Linked DNA regions of Homo sapiens: all the other regions are linked to region 4. Evidence: promoter capture Hi-C in 16 types of primary human blood cells and fetal thymus (Javierre and others, 2016). All regions are on one chromosome and are shown on one strand. Each heading gives the region's core, a stretch centred on a gene start or on the middle of the fragment in contact. The rest is flanking DNA. Distances are from core to core; before and after follow the strand shown.

The links. Contacts are between HindIII fragments. The CHiCAGO score rates a contact against its expected background, and 5 or more counts as called.
Region 1: a contact is called between a fragment that was not itself captured here and the fragment with the promoter of UST-AS1 in region 4, in 2 of 17 cell types (naive B cells and total B cells). The highest score is 7.5, in naive B cells.
Region 2: a fragment that was not itself captured here is called in contact with the fragment with the promoter of UST-AS1 in region 4 in 4 of 17 cell types (naive B cells, total B cells, M0 macrophages and 1 more); the score reaches 7.5 in naive B cells.
Region 3: a fragment that was not itself captured here is called in contact with the fragment with the promoter of UST-AS1 in region 4 in 9 of 17 cell types (naive B cells, total B cells, megakaryocytes and 6 more); the score reaches 8.7 in naive B cells.
Region 5: a fragment that was not itself captured here is called in contact with the fragment with the promoter of UST-AS1 in region 4 in 3 of 17 cell types (naive B cells, megakaryocytes and total B cells); the score reaches 8.2 in naive B cells.

The regions. Positions count from the first base shown.
Region 1 is chr6:148,645,492-148,649,414 of GRCh38, reverse strand. It overlaps the pseudogene RPSAP40. Among named protein-coding and RNA genes, the nearest start is that of UST, 100 kb to the left of the region's middle. RefSeq lists an enhancer at 3,585-3,923. The HindIII fragment of the contact is 811 bases long and covers 991-1,801 here.
Region 2 is chr6:148,699,995-148,703,436 of GRCh38, reverse strand. No RefSeq gene overlaps it. Among named protein-coding and RNA genes, the nearest start is that of UST, 45 kb to the left of the region's middle. The HindIII fragment of the contact is 1,486 bases long and covers 1,403-2,888 here.
Region 3 is chr6:148,681,653-148,685,012 of GRCh38, reverse strand. No RefSeq gene overlaps it. Among named protein-coding and RNA genes, the nearest start is that of UST, 64 kb to the left of the region's middle. The HindIII fragment of the contact is 576 bases long and covers 1,400-1,975 here.
Region 4 is chr6:148,962,490-148,966,267 of GRCh38, reverse strand. UST-AS1 (UST antisense RNA 1) reads left to right here and starts at 1,584. Exons shown (of 3, transcript NR_038408.1): 1 at 1,584-1,707. UST (uronyl 2-sulfotransferase) reads right to left here. Exons shown (of 8, transcript NM_005715.3): 5 at 1,705-1,858. RefSeq lists enhancers at 1,543-2,119, 2,120-2,696. The HindIII fragment of the contact is 7,762 bases long and covers 1-3,778 here.
Region 5 is chr6:148,628,259-148,632,045 of GRCh38, reverse strand. No RefSeq gene overlaps it. Among named protein-coding and RNA genes, the nearest start is that of UST, 120 kb to the left of the region's middle. The HindIII fragment of the contact is 940 bases long and covers 895-1,834 here.

The sequences.
Region 1 (3,923 bases), core at 147-2,646, 320 kb after region 4:
AGTCTTGGCCAATCCCAGTGGCTGTACTTCGACCATTTATACACTGCTGAATGTTCAAGCTGTGTTCAAATAAGGCAAACACAAACTTGGAACCAATCCAGTCGTTCTGTACCTCACTTCCAATTTCTGTACATTATTTCCCCTTTTTGTCTATAAATATTCTTCCACTACATGGCTGTGCTGGAGTCTCTGTGAATTTGCTCTAATTCTGTGGGCTGCCCAATTTGAAAATCATTCATTGCTCAATTAAACTCCTTTAAATTTAATTCGGCTAAAGCTTTTCTTTTATCAATACAGACTATGCTGTTACCAAGGATTTAGTAAATTTTCTGGAATAAATATTTCTTCATTTTCTGTATGCCCTCAGAACAATGTGCAGAAACTTAAAAAAAACTATTTTCTTTAACTTCTTTTTTAGTAAAACGATTGTTATGCTTAGTAGGCTGCTGTGCTTCTCACTTCTTCTTTCTGGAAATCTGTTAGCAATCACTGTCAATAGATTCTTGACAAAGATACCAAGGGAATTTAATGGGGGAAAGGATAATTGTTTCAACAGTTGGTGCTGGAACAACTGGATATTTATATGCTAAAAAATTACCCTTGTTTCTTACCTCACACCATAAAGAAAAATTGATTCAAAATAGATAAAGACCTTAAGGTAAGAGTCAACAGCATAAAACTTCTAGAAGACATCAGAGAAAATCCAAGCAGTCACAAGTTAGCTAAAGTTTTCATAATTAGGCTTTCTGGATACCCAGAGGAGGGTCCATATGGCATTGTTCTGGATTCCATTGTAACTTCAAGGGAAACTTTCACAACGTCTGGAGCCCTTGATATCCTGCAAATGAAGGAGGAGGATGTCCTCAAGTTTCTTGCAGCAGGGACCCAATTAGGTGGCATCAACCTCGACTTCCAAATGGAACAGTACACCTATAAAAGGAAAAGTGAAAGCATCTGCTTCCTAAATCTGAACAGGACCTGGGAGAAGCTTCTTCTGGCAGCTGGCGCCATTGTTGCCATTGAAAACTGTGCTGATGTCAGTGTCACGCCCTCCAGAATACTGGCCAGTGGGCTGTGCTGAAGTTTGCTGCTGCCACTGGAGTCACTCCTATTGCTGGCTGTTTCATTGTTTCACTCTTGAAACTTTCACTAACCAGACCCAGGCAGCCTTCTGGGAGCCATGGCTCTTGGCAATTACTGATCCCAGAGCTGACCACCAGCCTCTCACAGAGGTGTCTTATGCTAACCTGCCTACCATTGCTTTGGGTCACACAGATTCTCGTCTGCGCTGTGGACATTGCCATCCCCTGCAACAACAAGGGCACTCACTCAGTGGGTCTGATGTGGAAGATGCCAGCCTGGAAGTTCTGCATATGCATGGCACCATCTCCTGTGAACACCCATAGGAGGTCGTGCCTGATCTCTATGTCTACAGAGATCCCAAGGAGATTAGAAAGAAAGAGCAGGCTGCTGCTAAAAAAGCTGAGGCTAAGGAGGAATTTCAGGGTGAAGGGACTGCCCTGGCTCCTGAGTGTACTGCTACTCAGCCTGAGGTTGCAGCCTGCTTTGAAGGTGTGCAGGTCACACAGGTGCCCCCTGTGTCTGTTCAGCAGGTCCCTACTGAAGACTAGAGCACTCAGCCTGCCATGGAAGACTGGTCCACAGCTCCCACTGCTTGGGCCACTGAATGGGTATGAAAAACCACTGAGTGGTCGGTCTTAAGCCATTTTCCACAGGCTCCTAAGCAAAATGGAAATAAGGTTGTTGGAAAATAAACATCAGTTCTTAAAAAAAAAAAGCTTTTTATAATTAGGACATAAAAGTACAAAGTATAAAATAAAAAAAATTGGATTTCATCAAAAGTAAAAACTCTTGGTCCTCAAAAGAAATTTAAGGATATGAAAAGGTAAGCCACAGACTAACAAAATATTTTCAAATATTTTCAGATACAGAATTTGTATCTGAAATATATAAATAACTCACACAATTCAATAATAAGACAAATAATCCAAATAAAAATGGGCAAAAGATTTAAACAGAAACTTAATCAAATAAGATATAGAGAAGGAAAATAAGCACATAAGATAGATGTTCAACATTGTTGTTTATAAAGGAAATGTAAATCAAAACCACAATGAGATATCACTACACACTCATAAATATGGTTCTAATTAAAAAGGCCAATCATACCTAGTGTTGGTGAGGAAGCAGAGCAATTGGAATGATCATACACTGTGGGAACATAACCTGGAACACCACTGGAAAACTGTCAGTTTTTTAAAAACAAACCTGGCCGGGCACAGTGGCTCATGCCTGTAATCCTAGCAATTTGGGAGGCTTAGGCAGGCAGATTACCTGGGGTCGGGAGTTCAAGACCAGCCTGACCAACATGGTGAAACCCCATCACTACTAAAAATACAAAAATTAGCTGGGCATGGTGGTGCATGCCTGTAATTCCAGCTACTCGGGAGGCTGAGGTAGGAGAATTGCTTGAATCCAGGAGGCAGAGGTTGTAGTGAGCTGAGATCGCACCATTGTACTCATGCACTCATAGCCTGGGCAACAAGAGCAGAAACTCCAAAAAACAAACAAACAAACAAACAAAACCCATAAACCTGTTCTACTATGCTGCCATTTCAATCTTAGGTATTGCCTAAGAGAAATGAAAGCATGTGCCCACACAAAGACTTGTACATAATCTTCATAGCAGCTTTACTCTTAATAGCCCATAACTGGACAGAACCCAAATGTCCATCAACAGGTAAAGGAATAAATAACTGGTGGAGGACCAATACAAAGATGTACCACTCAGAAACAAAAAGAAATAAACTATTGATAAAGACGAATGAGTGTCATAAGTATTATGCTAAGTAAAAGAAAGCAGAAACAAATGCCTATAGACTCTATAATTCCATTTATATAAAATTCTGAAAAAGGCAAAACTAGGTTAGTGCAAAAGTAATTGCAGTTTCAGATTATAAATTTTAAATCATTATAGCTAGGCTCAAACACATCTTTATTAATCAAAATAGGAATCATTACAATCAACGCATTTTTGCCAACGATAAGTAAGTTTTTTTATTCCTGTAGCACAAAAATCCTTGCTTCAGGATTCGACAAACTCTTGGAAAGCATTTTCTGCATCCTGCTGGTTGTAGAAGCGTTTTCCCTGCAAAAAGTTGTCGAGATGCTTGAAGAAGTGGTGGTTGGTGAGAAGTCAGGTGAATATGGCAGATGAGGCAAAACTTTGTAGACCAATTCATTCAACTTTTCAAGCATAGGTTGTGCAACATGCAGTCAGGCATTGTCATGGACTCAAATAAGAAAATTGCTTGAATCTGCCATTCGTCTAACATCATTTCCATGGTCTAAAATGAATGGTAAGTGGTAAGTCATTAGCAAAAAAACATAAAGTGAGAAATGCATATTAAAATGATTTATAACATAACCACATTTATTTAAGAATGTATTCCAATATCAAACGGCAAATTCCAATAATGCAAAAACCACAATTACTTAATATAATAATAGAAAGTATGTCACTGGTTGCCAAGAGCCAGGTGATGGTAGAGGGAGGTGACTGTAAAGAGGTTGCAAGGGGATTTTTAGGGGCCATGGATATGTTCTATGTCAAGATTATTGTGATAGTCCTACAACTGCATACATTTATCAAAACTCATCAGATTGCTCACCTGGAATTAATTGATTTCATTTTGCATGTAAATTATTTTTGATGCATTTAAGTTTCCTCCATGTCTTTTTGTGACTTGATAGCTTCTTTTTATTACTAAATAATGTTCCTTTGTCCAGTTATACCACAGTTTGTTTATCCATTTGTTATTTGAAGAACATCTTGACTGTTTACAGTTTTTGGCAATTATTAGTAAAGCTGCTATAAACATACTTTCATGGGCATCCGTGTG
Region 2 (3,442 bases), core at 896-3,395, 260 kb after region 4:
ATAGACTAGTATCTCTCAGGAAAATGGATGCAAAAATCGTCAACAAAATATTAGTAAATTGAATCCAACAATGTATAAAACAAACAATACACCATGACCAAATGGGATTTACTCCAGATATGCAGGACTAGTTCAATGTTTGAAAATCATAATGTATTCAATCACAACAACAGGCTAAAGAAGAAAAATTATATGATCATATCAATAGATGCAGAAAAAGAATTTAACAAAATCCACCATCCACTTACGGTAAAAACTCCAAGCAAACTAGGAATAGAGGGAAACTTTCTCAAACTGATAAAGGACATGTACAAAAAATCTACAGCTAACTTCATACTTAATGAAGAGAAACTAGATGCTTTCCTTTTAATTTAGGAAGGCAAGGATATCTGCTCTCACCAGTCTTATTTTAGATCATGCTGGAAGTCCTAACTAGTGCAATAAGACAAGAAAAAGAAATTAAAAGCATACAGATTGGGAAGAAAGAAATAAAGCTGTCTTCGTATATAGATGGTATGATTGTCTGTGTAGAAAATCCGAAAGAATCAGCAACAACAAAAATCCCCTTCTGGAATTAGTAAGCTATTATGTAAACGTTGGCAGATACAAGATTAATATTTAAAAGTTAATTGCTTTCTTACATATCAACAATGAACAACTGGAATTTGAAATTAAGAAATAATGCCATTTACATTCACACCAAAAAATGGGTATAAATCTAACAAAATATGTATAAGATTTATATGATAAAAGCTATAAACCTCTGATGAAAGAAACCAAAGAATATATGAATAAATGGAGAGATACACCATGGACATGGATAAGATTTAATATTGTCAAATATCCCTTCTTCCCAACTGGATCTATAGATTAAATGAAATTACAATCCAAATACCAGTAAAGGTTTAAAAATTTTTTTTAATTTTGACAAACTAGTTCTAAAGTTTGTATGGAAAGGCAAAAGACCCAGAATAGCCAACCCAGTATTGGGTTTCATTAAGTAAGAAAGAAAAGAATACAATCAGAGGCCTTACACTATCCAACTCCAGGAAGTACTATAAAGCTACAATAATCAAGACAGCATGGTATTGGTGAAAGAATAGACAGATAAGTGGAGCAGAGTACAGAGCCTAGAAATAGATCCAAACAAATAAGGTCAACTGATATTTGATGAATGAGAAAAGTCAATTTAGTGGAAAAAAGATAGTCTTTTCCACAAACGGTGTGTGGGAGTGGGGAAGGTGAATATAGGAGCTCTGTATTTTCTGCCCAGTTTTTCTGTAAGCCTAAAATTGCTAAAAGAAATGAAGTCTATTAATTTTTTAAAAATCGATTCCAAAGAAAGGGTAAAGGGAGAGATATAATCATATAACCATATAAACTTTGGGGTAAGACAGAAGCTTTGACATTAAACACATGAACACACTAGAAGAGGCTTAAATACATGAAAAAAAATACTAGGAACATCTATATTTTGTAGTAGATTGGGTCAAACCCCAAAATGGCAGGAAAAGAAGCAGCCAGAAAGGAAAATAACATACCCACTCAAAATAAATGAAAAATAACAACCACTACAAGGCAATCAAATGAGTATTCTAAAGGGCCATGATATAAGCAAAAACACAAATAAGCCTTAAAAAAATCACCCTCACTGAGACTGTGTACAAGCTGGGTCAACAGCCCACTATACAGGTGTCCTATGAAAACCAATTACAGCAGCCCTTTCCAGCTCAGGGGATGCTTCCTGAGCCTTTGCCTCAATCTCAGTAGAATATTTGAAAACCTAGAGGACTCTGGAGCCAGACAGAGCATGTTCCAAGTCTGGATTCCCATGTACTAATGGATGCTCTTGGGCAGAAAATAACCTCTCAAAGACCGTAAACCAGGGCAGTCAAGCAGAGACTTGGCGTCCAGGCCCTCTGGTCACACTGCATGGGTCAAATTCTAGTTCTGTCTCTCCATGGAGGTGAGACCATGAGAATCCAATGAGAAAATAAACATGCATTTTGGCCGTTCATCTGATCTGGTTTCTACTCCATTGCTTACCACATAGATTCTTTCTATGGTTGGCCCCCTTGCATTGCCAGTTCATTTGGACAAGACAGATGATATTATTTTCGTTTCACACCCAGGATGCTGCCTCTTGTCTCTCTTTCATCCTTTCATACAATGCTGCTTCTGTCTCCTGCCCAGGTCTCCGGGTCTCCGAATTCCAGCCAAGAATCAGTGTGCTGATGCTGCTTGCTTTGAAAAGGAGAGTAGCTCCTGTGAACTGAACCTAACACACCAGAATCAAGGCAGCATCATTGTATCTGCAAGATTAGGGTAACAATTATTTACAACTCAGTAGGAAAAGATAAAGAAAACATTCTCTATGTAGTGGCAATGTGGAAGTTCAAACAAAATGAAAATGAAACTAACTTATTTACACAAATAAGAGCCCTAGGCGGTTACTGACAGGCAGCTATGCAGGTCGTGACATAGGCAATGCGTATTGAACAGGCTCCTGAATCTAAGGAAAGTGGGGGGAATACGGCCTCTCTGCCTCTGGCTGCGGGACTACACAGCTGGCAGCCGACAGTAGGAGCAATTTTGCATCTGCTTTTTTACAGCCCAGTGACTGGGCAGGATTTTATGGCCAATAGCAGTAAAAATCTGGCAACTATATATTTGGAGCCCAGAAATTGAATCACCAAAACAATCCAGGGAAAAAAAAATAGAAAAGTGGTAGAAATGAAATTCACCCAATCATTAGAAAATAAGACAAGAGTATTTTTAAAATATAGAAGTTTGGGACAAGGGCAAAGTTTGGCTCTAAAACAGAAAGGGAATTTTTTAAAATGCAAAAAGGCTTGGGGAAAGGAGCACCATGGAGCATTTCCAAAGCTTTAGGGAATGAATGAGACGTATTTCAGAAAAACCCAAAATTGCACAATTGCTTTTGGGAATTAATACAAGATTAAATTAGAGATGTAAAAATAAAGGAACAATGAAAACAGAGTGACTAATTTCTCTGTATGTGAAATAAATATTTGCTTTCTTAAGGGAAGAAAAGAAAAAAGAATGAAAAAAATCACAAGTATTCAAGGAGAAGACTTTTTATTAAAAAAAAAAAACTTACAGCACTAAAAACTATCCCAATATTTATTAACATCCAGCTAATTAAAATCATGACACTAGAGGTCAGCCTCCTAATTCTGAACAAATTATATTTACTATACTATCATATCAGTGAAGTTTATAAGCAGCAGGTCCATGAAGTCATTGCCATTATTATTTTAATTATTGGTAATAACGGTAGTAGATGTTGCTTTTTAGTGAAGAACTAGGTTAGCAGAGTAAAAGGTCTGACCTAGATTCTCTGAACTATTGTCAAGAGTATTTGCTCATGTCAGAAGAATTTTTAACATCTAAATAATTTATTTAGAAGAGAAATTTCTTG
Region 3 (3,360 bases), core at 438-2,937, 280 kb after region 4:
TCCTTGACAATTTCTCTCCCTCCCTCTCGTCTCCACTTTTCTAGGCCAGTATAGATGTTTCTGTGTTCAAGTTTTGTTTCGCTTTGATATAATTTTTGTTGTAGTGAAACAAGAATCTACCTATTCATGTGGGTCCCCAGCTACCAAAAGCCTCCTCTTGAGGGTTCCCCATATGCATTTCACATGTGCTTAGAAATGTGTCTGGCCAGGTTTCAGGTCATCTTCCATCTATCCATTCTGATACCTGTGTCAGTAAGAAGGTCTTTTAGCACCTCTATTTCTTCTTTAATTCTGAGTATTTCCTGTTTCCTTTTCTTATCCCTCCATCCTGTCTGGGCTTCTGGCAGTTTGAGCCCGGAGGTCCAGATTTAGAGTATAATTAGTAAGCATTCCATCCCTTAACCCCAGGGTCCTTGGGAGCAGACTGCTCTGCTGGCCCTGGCCCTGCCCCTGCAGGATATCACCCCTGATGCTGCCTCAGGAGAGCCCCACCCAGATTCTGCAGGGCCCACCACACCCTCCAGACCTGGTGGTCTCCTTCTGGGTAGTGCTGCTGTAGGCACAGACCTCTGCCTACGACCACAGCTTCAGCTGCCACCAGCGATGCCTGGGAAGCTTCCAGGTACCAACACTGTCTGCTGGCCACTGTCCCCTTCCCTATCTCTCTCATATCACATTCCTTTAGGGAATTACCCAAGCAAAGCAAGTATATCCCAGTGTTAGCCTAAATAAATAAATAAATGCTCCAATTATGACTTACAGCCCCTTCTCTTCCTAGAACCCAGATGTAGAGTCTTGTGTACTGATGACAGATCTGTGAAACTGGCACAACACTGTGCTCCAAATTCCTCCCCACCGTTGACCACGAAGCCTCTATGGCGGTATCAAGCTGGTTGTGCCCGGTTCCTTCTTCCCTTAGGATGAATTACCTCCTAGGAACCTCCTTAGCCTCTGGAAATAGGCTTTCATCATCTCATCCTACCTGCCCACCAGACGTAACCGGAAGTGTCTAAATCCCAGGAGTGGCTGCAGTTCTGCCTCAGGTAAGACCTCTCTTCCTTTGAAAAGAACAAAGTCCATTTGAGACTGAGAATGGGATGACATGCTTCTGGACAGTTGCATGTGGGGAGCATCTCGTGGTATTTACAGACGTGAGGTATGAAGAATGCAGAGGGAATGAAGGAGCCTTAGCCAGGCCCTAAACTAAAAAACAACAAAACTAACTTCTAAGTAAATGAAACTTACCCTGTTGCTCTCACCTAAGTGAGAATGGTTGGTGGTTTTAAAGTATATTTCAATGGCTCTTTACCCAGCATGTATTTTGCTAAATTTTATACTAAAGTTATAGGTTAGCTTTGACATGATTGCAAATTTGTTTTCTAAGCTATTCTAGGAAGCTTAATTATGGAGCCCTAAAGGAAGTTGAAACTTCCCTGTGCAATTTATAAAAATCTACTTGTAATTTAATGTACAAGCACATTACAATGTAAGTATAATCTACAATGTATACTTAACACACCACACACGGTGCACATATCTGCATATTACAACATACAGAGCGTATCCTATAGGGACCATTCTTGAGATTTGGGGTGCTGACTAATCATACTCTTGCTCTCCTCTGGGTTCTAATCAGTTTGCTGTGTAAACAGGAGACAGATGGGAGGTCACAGAGTGCCAAAGGGTTAGGGGGAGAGTGAGGCTTCCTTCTTCTCCCCCGGCTGAATCTGACTTCCCCTCGCAGCCACAGACAATGCGGCTGGGGAGTTTCAGTCAGGAGAGGCCCTTCCTGCTGAGCTCACCACGAGGGAAGGTGAAATGGGAGGAGGTGGAGATGTGGACCTGCTCCCTGGTGTTGGATTCCACTTCTGCTTTGGCTCAGTTCAGAGCCTGTTGGACTCTTCCATCTGTCCAGTTAAGAAAGTAACTTCTTCCAAAAAGAGGAACTAGTAGAGGAAGAAAGAATTGAGAAGCTTCCTGATTTAGTACGTCCTGAAGATAGTGACCATATTGGGGGAGAGGGAGGAAGCTCTTATTTTAGGCATTAAAATGAGTGTAAGAAAATAAAAGTGCCTTCCTTTAGGAGAGGCAGAACTAGTTTTTAATATTTTATGGAAGCTACTGGAGAGTTAGCATAAGCTGTAGAGAGGTCATCTTTAAAGCAAACATGGTATAATAAGCCATATCTTAAAATGTAATTTTAAACTTAGACCAAACTATTCTATTTTAAATTGGGACTTTTTAATAACAGAATTCTGTCCAGTTTTTTATGATCACATGTGCACATGTACACGTGCACACGGGAACACACACACGAATAGGCAAAATAATGAAAGGATATCCACAAAGACAGCTCTGTGTGAAATTCAATGTGGCATTGTTTTTATCTTTTGGTTTATCAATTTTTTTCCCTGAGATTTCCAAAATGTTACTTTTCTAATAAGAGAAAAAATGTGTGTGTGTGCGAGTGTGTGTGTGCGTGGTGTGTGTCCATGCACGCATGTGTGCTTGCACACACGTGTGTACGTTCACATGTGCCTGTGTGTGTGTGTGTCCACGTGTGTGCTTGTGTGCACGTGAGCCTGTGTGTGCATGTGTGTGTATGCACGTGTGTGTGCACGCACGTGTGTGTGTTTAAATAAACAATTCTGTAGCTCCTGAGCATATTCTGGCCTGATGCGTAACAGCAGGAATAAACAAAGTCAAACCATCGCTGTCCTGGGGAAACCTTGGCGGCGGATGAAGGACTGGGAAGAGTAGCAAGGCTAAAGCCAGCAAAATTAAAGCAAGACAAGTCCTTGATTCCTAGAGAATGAGGCATGAGGACAAGTGACCTAATATCGGTCACATGTCCCCATAAGACACATGGAAGTACATTAAAAAACTGTGAAGAAAATTAAAGCAAGTAAGTGATGACAGCTAAATTCATTCTGATTGTTGGCATTTTGGGATGTTTATAAGTTGGGCTTTTATAGCTGGTGGATTTCACCAAAATATTGTTAGATGGCAATAGTTCATTTAATTCTTTATTTTTTCCATGTTAAAGTCATAGTTTTAACTTAAAACATTAGGGGGGAATCAAAGAGATGTTGGTAAAAGGGTATAAAATTTCAGTTAGACAGGAGGAATAAGTTCAAGAGATCTGTTGTGCAACATGGTGACTGTAGCTAATAATGCATTGCATACTTGAAAAGTGAACGCCTTCACCACCAAAAAAATGATAAATATGTGAGGAAATGGATATGTTCAATAGCTTGATTTAGCCATTCTACAATGTACACATATATCAAAACATCATGTCATACCCCATAATGTATACAATTTTTATTTGTCAATTTTAAAATTTTTTAAGAAGATAAA
Region 4 (3,778 bases), core at 335-2,834:
CTATAGTTTTTTATTTTATTTAATTATTATTATTATTATTTTTTGAGATGGAGTCTCGGTCTGGCACCTAGGCTGGAGTGCAGTAGCACGATCTTGGCTCACTGCAACCTCTGCCTCCCGGATTCAAAGGATTCTCCTGCCTCAGCCTCCCAATTCGCTGGGATCACAGGCATGCGCCACCATGCTCGGCTAATTTTTGTATTTTTAATAAAGACAGGTTTTCACCATGTTGGCCAGGCTGGTCTCGATCTCCTGGCCTCAAGTGATGCACCTGCCTCGGCCTCCCAAAGTGCTGGGATTACAGGCGTGAGCCACTGCGCCCGGCCTCATAACCTATAAAGAAATAGATTAGGGTTTCGCCATAAAAACTAAAAAAAAAAAAAAAAAAAAAGGGAAAAGCCACTTTTAAAATATATCATCAAAGGAAGAAAATAAAAATAAAAATAAAATCATCAAAATATTTCACTGAAGCCTTAGGTAGTTGATCAAATACCGAAGGTGAGTGGAAAGCCGTGGGTCTGGTGTAGTCGTCTGGCCCTGGCTGAGACACTAACTTCTCTGTATCTCAGTTTTCTCTACTCTAATCATGGATTTGAAAACATGAACGTGACACTGAGGGGACATCATCCCCAAATGCTCCCAGCCTCTGAACATCCACTTCCATTATGTTTTTAAAATGAGATGAGGAAGCAGCCGTCCTGGCCGTGGCCCTGAGATTCGGTGCTTTTCTCCAGCGGCAAGGCTGCTGCTGACGGCACATCAGCAGTGGCCTCAGCTCTGGGCGATCTTCCAGCTTTGGGAACAACACCTCTGACTGATCCTCAACACTTCCTACTTTCCTGCTTGTGCCCGACAACAGCCCAGGATGGGTCCGGGTGAACCCCAAGGGCTCTCTCAGACACAGAGACCAGGATTTCAGCCTCCTGGGCACCAGGCTGTCAGCTCCTCAGTACATGTTTCTCAACACAGGGATGGGAAATGTACCTTTCGTTCTAGTGCTGAAAGAAAGACGCGCAACTCCGCCCTCCGTTTTTGTTACCAACCTCTGTGCTGCGGAAATAATTACTGGGCTCGAGACTAACATCCCTTATGGAGCTGAGGGTCCCAAAACAAGTCCAGAGAAAGCAAACAATTACTGGTGCAATGACAGGGTTCTATCGCGCTGTGGTGGAAAGAACCCAGACTGTGAAGGCAGGAAACCCGAAACAGTCGGTCGCAGTTGCGCCCTTACCTGAGAGGTGACTGTGGCAAATCCCACAACCTTTAGAATCTCAGGGTCCTCATCTGAAAACACCTCCCCCTCCCAGAGTGGTCATGGGAACTGAATGGGCTGAGGGATGAGAAGGGGCTCTGCCGCCCTCTAACAGACACCCCCCCAACACCTTTGTTCTTCTTAAGCACTACAGTGCTAGTCAGGACTCCTTAGGAAAGACTGTTAACGCTCTGGGTCCCAAAACCTAGCACTAAAGACAACTGAGCAAAGCAAAATCAGAAAATAATTTGAGGAAATGTTCATTAGGATCTGGGTCACCCGGAACCAGTTTCTCTCGCCAAGACCTCCTTCCTGCGGAAGCACCCTCTCTGCGCCACGCTCCATGGAGGCGCCAAGGAGAAGGCCTGGGAAGGGAAGAGTGAACCTTCCCTGGTGGAGGGCCCACTCCTCAGGCAGTGGGGAGACCGCCTTTTGCATGCGACAGGACTTACCAGGTAGCGCTCCTCCTGCCTCATGCTGGGGGTGCGGATCATGTGATTTTGTTCCCCTCTCCAGTCTCCAAAGCGACGGAAAAAATAGTTGGATAAGAACCGGTTGACGGGGTCTCTAATGATGTTGATGTAGACAGGCTGGTCTCCTCCAAACCTAACACAAACATTGAGTTCGTTACAACCCATCACTGCAGGACGAAAACAGGGCCTACTTAGACAACATCTCCCCTTCCCTCTAGGTTAACTTATTGAAAGATGACCTCCTATGCTAAGGTGCCAATGACACGTAATAAGCAAACGGTGTTTCCTGATAAGCATTTTATTATCATGCAGGAAGTGGGGAGGATGATACCTGTTCCAGGTACCTGTTGAGGGGCTGTGAGGACATTTCATAGTATAGCACGGTACAAACCACACCATTGTGCATGTTAAGGAAGAGATGGTGTCTAGTTTTCTCACCAGGCTGTAGGTTTCTTGAGGATGGGGGCCACTCTGTATTGGATTTAGTATTTCCAATGGCTAGAACAGAACCCACAGGGACACAATTGGCCCTCGGTGAATGTTTCAGTTGATTGGTAGGTTCTGACTGCCTTGCTGGGTGAGACGGCACTTCCTCTATATTGTAATTCAAACAGTTCCGGGTCAGGTGCTCTGCAGTAAGGGAGTGAATAACAGCCAGTCTTCACTGAGCACTCGCTATTCACCTTGTTCTAAATACCTCATGTAACCAGCTTGCTGAAGCCCCATAACACGTCAATGGAGTAGAAAAAATAATTATCCTCATTTACACTTGGGGAAACTGAGGCAGGAATAAGGTTCATAACTTGTAGCTGAACTAGGATATGGGTCCAGGCAATCTGGCTCTAGAATCTATGCTCTTAATTATGGAAAAGTGATTTCTGGAGTTGAGGAAATTTTGTGTGGGATATCAAGAATGAAACAAAATTCAACATAATTATCCTCAAGTGATGGCAAGTGGCTTCAGATAAAAATAAAGCAAATAGCCAGGTGTTCCATTTTAATTCCTTCCATGAAAGGATTAGATGAATCCACTAAATCTTGGCCCAAGAACAAGGTCTTCCCGAAGCAGAGTGATGAGATTGGCTGGATTTCTCTTAATGATTCCTTCTTTTTCTCTTTGAACTGCTTGAAAGCAGTAGCCTTGAGGAGTTCGGGGAGAGTGCCCCAGTCTCTGGGCAGAGGGCATGCTCTGGTGACCTCCTGAGGGGCCTGCAGGGTTCTCTAGCCCTATGGCCTCGTGACCTTCTGAGGAATGTGCCTGGACATTCTGTCAGGGGTCAGAAAGAACTAAGAGAAAACAAACTGACAGGACCCCGCTCCTGCCTCTCCCCAGCTGGCAGACTCCATTCACCTTTCAAAACCCAGCCTGGAGTCACATCACATCCCTCAGCAATTAATGCCCAACCCAGGGTCCATGCCTCCCTCCTCTGTGCCCTGGGCCCTCTCTCTTGCACTGTGTGGAAATGTGTGCCTCTCCCATCAGACTGTGGGCCTCCTGCAGCCAGGAACGACACGCTCTAGCTCAGTGTGTGGCACACAGTAGGTGCTCAACAAATGATGACCAAATGAAGAAATGAACATCTGAGTGTGTGCCTCTCAGTTGTTAACGTTTCTTCCCATATCATGGGGCTCTGTTGTCAGAGGAAAGTAATAACAAGCCCCCATCCTTTTCTGTGTATGAATTCATATAATGTTGTTCCTGGTTTATCTGCATTTTTAAAAAGAATCTTCAGAGAGAAGAATCCAAAGGAACAACTCTGAGATAGTGGAATTTCAGGCACCAGGACATATGAATGACACCCTGGAGCCCTTAAATACTACCACATTGGAACACACACTGCTCATGGGTGAGATTAGCCTTGCAATGCGAATCTTGTTAGTTCTCAGAAATACACATTCATGTAACTGGATGAACAACTAACTGGAGTCCCAGGAGTTAGCTGTGCCAACCACCAGCTAACTACTGTACACACCCCAGATTTATCCCCCTTTTAAAATTAAATTGGGTTTCATATCTATGATAAACAGCAACTAAAGTAATAAAGCTAGGGAC
Region 5 (3,787 bases), core at 115-2,614, 330 kb after region 4:
GCGCCACTGCACTCCAGCCTGGGAGGCAGAGCGAGACTTCGCCTCAAAAAAAATAAATAAATAAAAATAAAAAAATAAAATTGTGCTTCAAAAGACATCATCAATAAAATGAAAAGATATGGCTCAGACTGGAAGAAAATATTCGCTAATCATGTAGCTGTTAAATCAAATTTAGCCTAAAGCTGCCTCCTTCATATTTTAAGTTTGGCCTAAGGGTTTCTCTGTACCTCCTGAGCTATAGTGTATCGTAGCCTGAATGGAGTTGTATACAGACTGTAGCCACCACTTGTGCCAATCACTGAGTTTTGGCCAATCAAAGGTGGCCAGCTGTTCAAACTGTGTTCAAATAAGGCAAAGACGGAGCTGTAACCAATCCAGCTGTTTCTGTACCTAACTTCTGTTTTCTGTACCTTGCTTTCCTTTCTCTGTCCATAAATCTTCTTCCACCATGTGTCTGTGCTGGAGTCTCTGAGCCTACCCTGGCTCAGGAGACTGTCCAATTCGCAAATCGTTCTTTGCCCAATTAAACTGTTAAATTTAATTTTGTTACATTTTTAAAAAACATGTCTGATAAAGAAATATATCAGGGACTCTCATAGTTCAATAATCAGATTAAGAACCCAATTACAAAATGCACAAAAGATTTGACCATATGTGAATGATCACTGAGCACGTGAAAATGTGCTCAACCACATCAGTCATGAGGGAAATTAGGACTACAATGAGATACCACTACATACACACCCACTAGAAAAACTGTAATCAGAAAGACTAACAATACCAACTGAAGGATGTGAAGCAACTAAAACAATCATACATTGCGTGTGGAAATGTAAAATGGTACAACCACTTGGAAAATAATTTAGCAGTTCCTTAAAAAGTTAAATATAAGCTTTTCATATGACACAGCAATTCCACTCCTAAGGATATATTCAAGAGAACAGGAATATATTTCTACCCGAAGACTTATACACAGACGTTCATAGCGGCATTGTTTCTATTAACCTCAAACTGGGAACAATCCAAATGTCTGTCAGTTGGTGGTTGGATAACATAATGCAGTATATCCATACAATGGGCTATTCAGCAATAAAAAGAACATATTGATACACAGTTAACATGGATGGACCTCAAAAACACCAGTGAAAGAAGTGAAAGAAGCCATGCATGAAAGACTGCAAAATTGTATGTTTCTATTTATTTAAAATATCCAGGACTGGGTGCTGTGGCTCACGCCTGTAATCCAGCACTTTGGGAGGCCAAGGCAGGTTGGTCACTTTAGGTCCGGAGTTCAAGACCAGCCTGGCCAACATGCTGAAACCCCTGACTCTACTAAAAATACAAAAAATAGCCCAGCGTGCTGGCACATGCCTGTAATCCCAGCTACTTGGGAGGCTGAGGCAGGAGAATCGCTTGAACCTGGGAGGCAGAGTTTGCAGTAAGCCAAGATCGCACCAAAAAATAAAATAAAAATAAGATATCCAGAAAAGGCACACTTAAGGAGACAGAAAGCAAACCGGTGGTTGCCTATGGCTGAAATATGGAAGCAGAGATGAACTGCAAATGGGCAGGAGGAAACTTTTTGGGGTGTTGGAAATGTCTTAATACTGGATTGTGGTAATGGCTTTATAAGTAAATTTACTACAAATCACTGAATTGTACACTTACCATGGGTGATTGTTATGGTGTGGAAATTTTGCCTCAACAAAGCTGCTTTAAAAATTGAAAATGATGCAGGTCAAAACCTACTAAATTGATGTCTTGACTCACTAATGGCTCATGAGCTGTTGTGGTAACATTGCCTAATTTTACAGTAAGGAAACTCTCCTAAGCTTCTCACTGGAAGTTCTTAAACTTAAGAAGTTAAAATTCTTAAACTTAAGATCCTTAAGCTCTCTTCACTTCTTGCCTTAACTGGAACTAAGATACCAGTTTTATCTGCCAATGCTATGTCCAGATCTCCTGCAAACATAGGCTCACATCCTTCCGTGAAGTTCCTACAGCAGGGGTTTTCCCTCCTCTTCCCCCTTCTCGCATCTAATTAATGGCAACATTCTCCAGTGGTACTTACTTAATCTTACTGGCTTCTCTTTACTTCTACTCCTCAGACTTATTGTCTCTTGCCTTGATTACTGAAACAACTTTTATTTGGTTGCTTTGACTCTAATCTTCTTTACAAGAGACATGCCCTTCCAAAGCACAATCTTTACATGCTAGTCCCTGTTTAAACATTTTAATGGCTTCCAGTGCCCACAGGATGAAGTCTCAACTCCTTAGCAAGGCAAACAGTGTCTGGCAGACAATGATTGATAAAATTTGTTGAAAGAGAAAATGAATGTGTCTCGTGTCATTGATTTTTCTTTTACTTTCATTCTATCTATTTGTAAGTATGGGTGTCTCCCCTACAAATAAAACTCTCCTCTAGAACAAGGATTTGTGTGTTTAAACTCATTTGTCTTCCCCAGCCCCCAGCACAATGTACTTCACACAGTGGGAATCTGATGTGCATTTGTGAGTGGATACATGGAAGAGTACTTCTTGAAGAGCTGTGTTAGGACCCAAGAGTTGCTGGCTCTCCAGGATGCTCTTGGCTTTGGTGTAACCTGCAAAGCAAACAAGAGGCTCCTAGTACAATATGCAAACTCAATGAATGTTCTACATTCCTGAAATCTGCCTGGGGACTCATCATTCAGGCATTGTTTTGACTTAGGAGAGTTGATGAGCTCGGTTCTGGACTCCATTCAGCAGCCTCCTCTTGCCAGCACTCCTAGAATCTTCCAGAGAGGAGGAGGAACACATGTAGCATTTATATTGAATGTAGAGATTTAACAGATACCATCCACATGTGTGGTAATAGTTTTTATCCCAAATGTCACTAGAAAGGCTTTGTCCATCTCATCAAGCCTGGAAAAATGACAAATTTGTGTTACAGAAAGTAGTAAAGGAAAACGTCTCGTTGTCCTTTCCTTTCTATCATCTTGAAAATAAACACTGTCGATGTACATCTTCTTGGTTCACTGCTAAAATAATGAAGCACCTTGATGAATTCCTCTGCTGCCTATGTCTAAAAGGATCATATTCCTTTTATTCTAAAAGTTTGGCGGAGGCATTTTTCAAAAGATGAGCTGGATAACTATTTCTTACACAAAGCTCTTAAAAGAAAAAAAATTACCATTACATTCAGCCAAATTAAGGCTGCCTTCTGTTAGGAAAGAATAGAATTCTTATAAAAAACTTTATATGTGATCATTTTGACTTTTATCTTGGCCTTCAAAGTAATAGATTTAATTAGATCATGTTCTTCAGAAAGAAAAAGAGTAAGATAAAATAGCTGGGACTTGTGAAGAACAAAAATTTTCATTGAACTACTCAGACAGAATCATTTCTAAATGTTATCTTTTGGGTTACATTTTAAAATGGTCTTAATATTTTTATAGCTGTTTCCCTGTATACCCTGTTCTTGCTACCTCCTTGGTTTTGCTTATGCCATTGACTTATTCTGGAAAACCATTCTTTCTTTTAAAGTGCCCAGTTTAAGTGCCATTTCCTCTAGGAGGCCTGCCCCTAAAACTGCAGCTGTCTCTGAGTAAGCTTTTGAAGAGCTGTTTACTGCATTTGAACAGATAGTCACAGGGGGATAAGGATGGGGGAGGGGAACACATCAGAATCTGAGGTGTAATTTGAAAAGGATATTATGATATATTTTAAAATTTCAAAATAAACTATTTGTTGTTAGGGCTAAGCAAACAAATCATTCTTCTTGAGGCAGTGAAAATCAGCCTCTCTT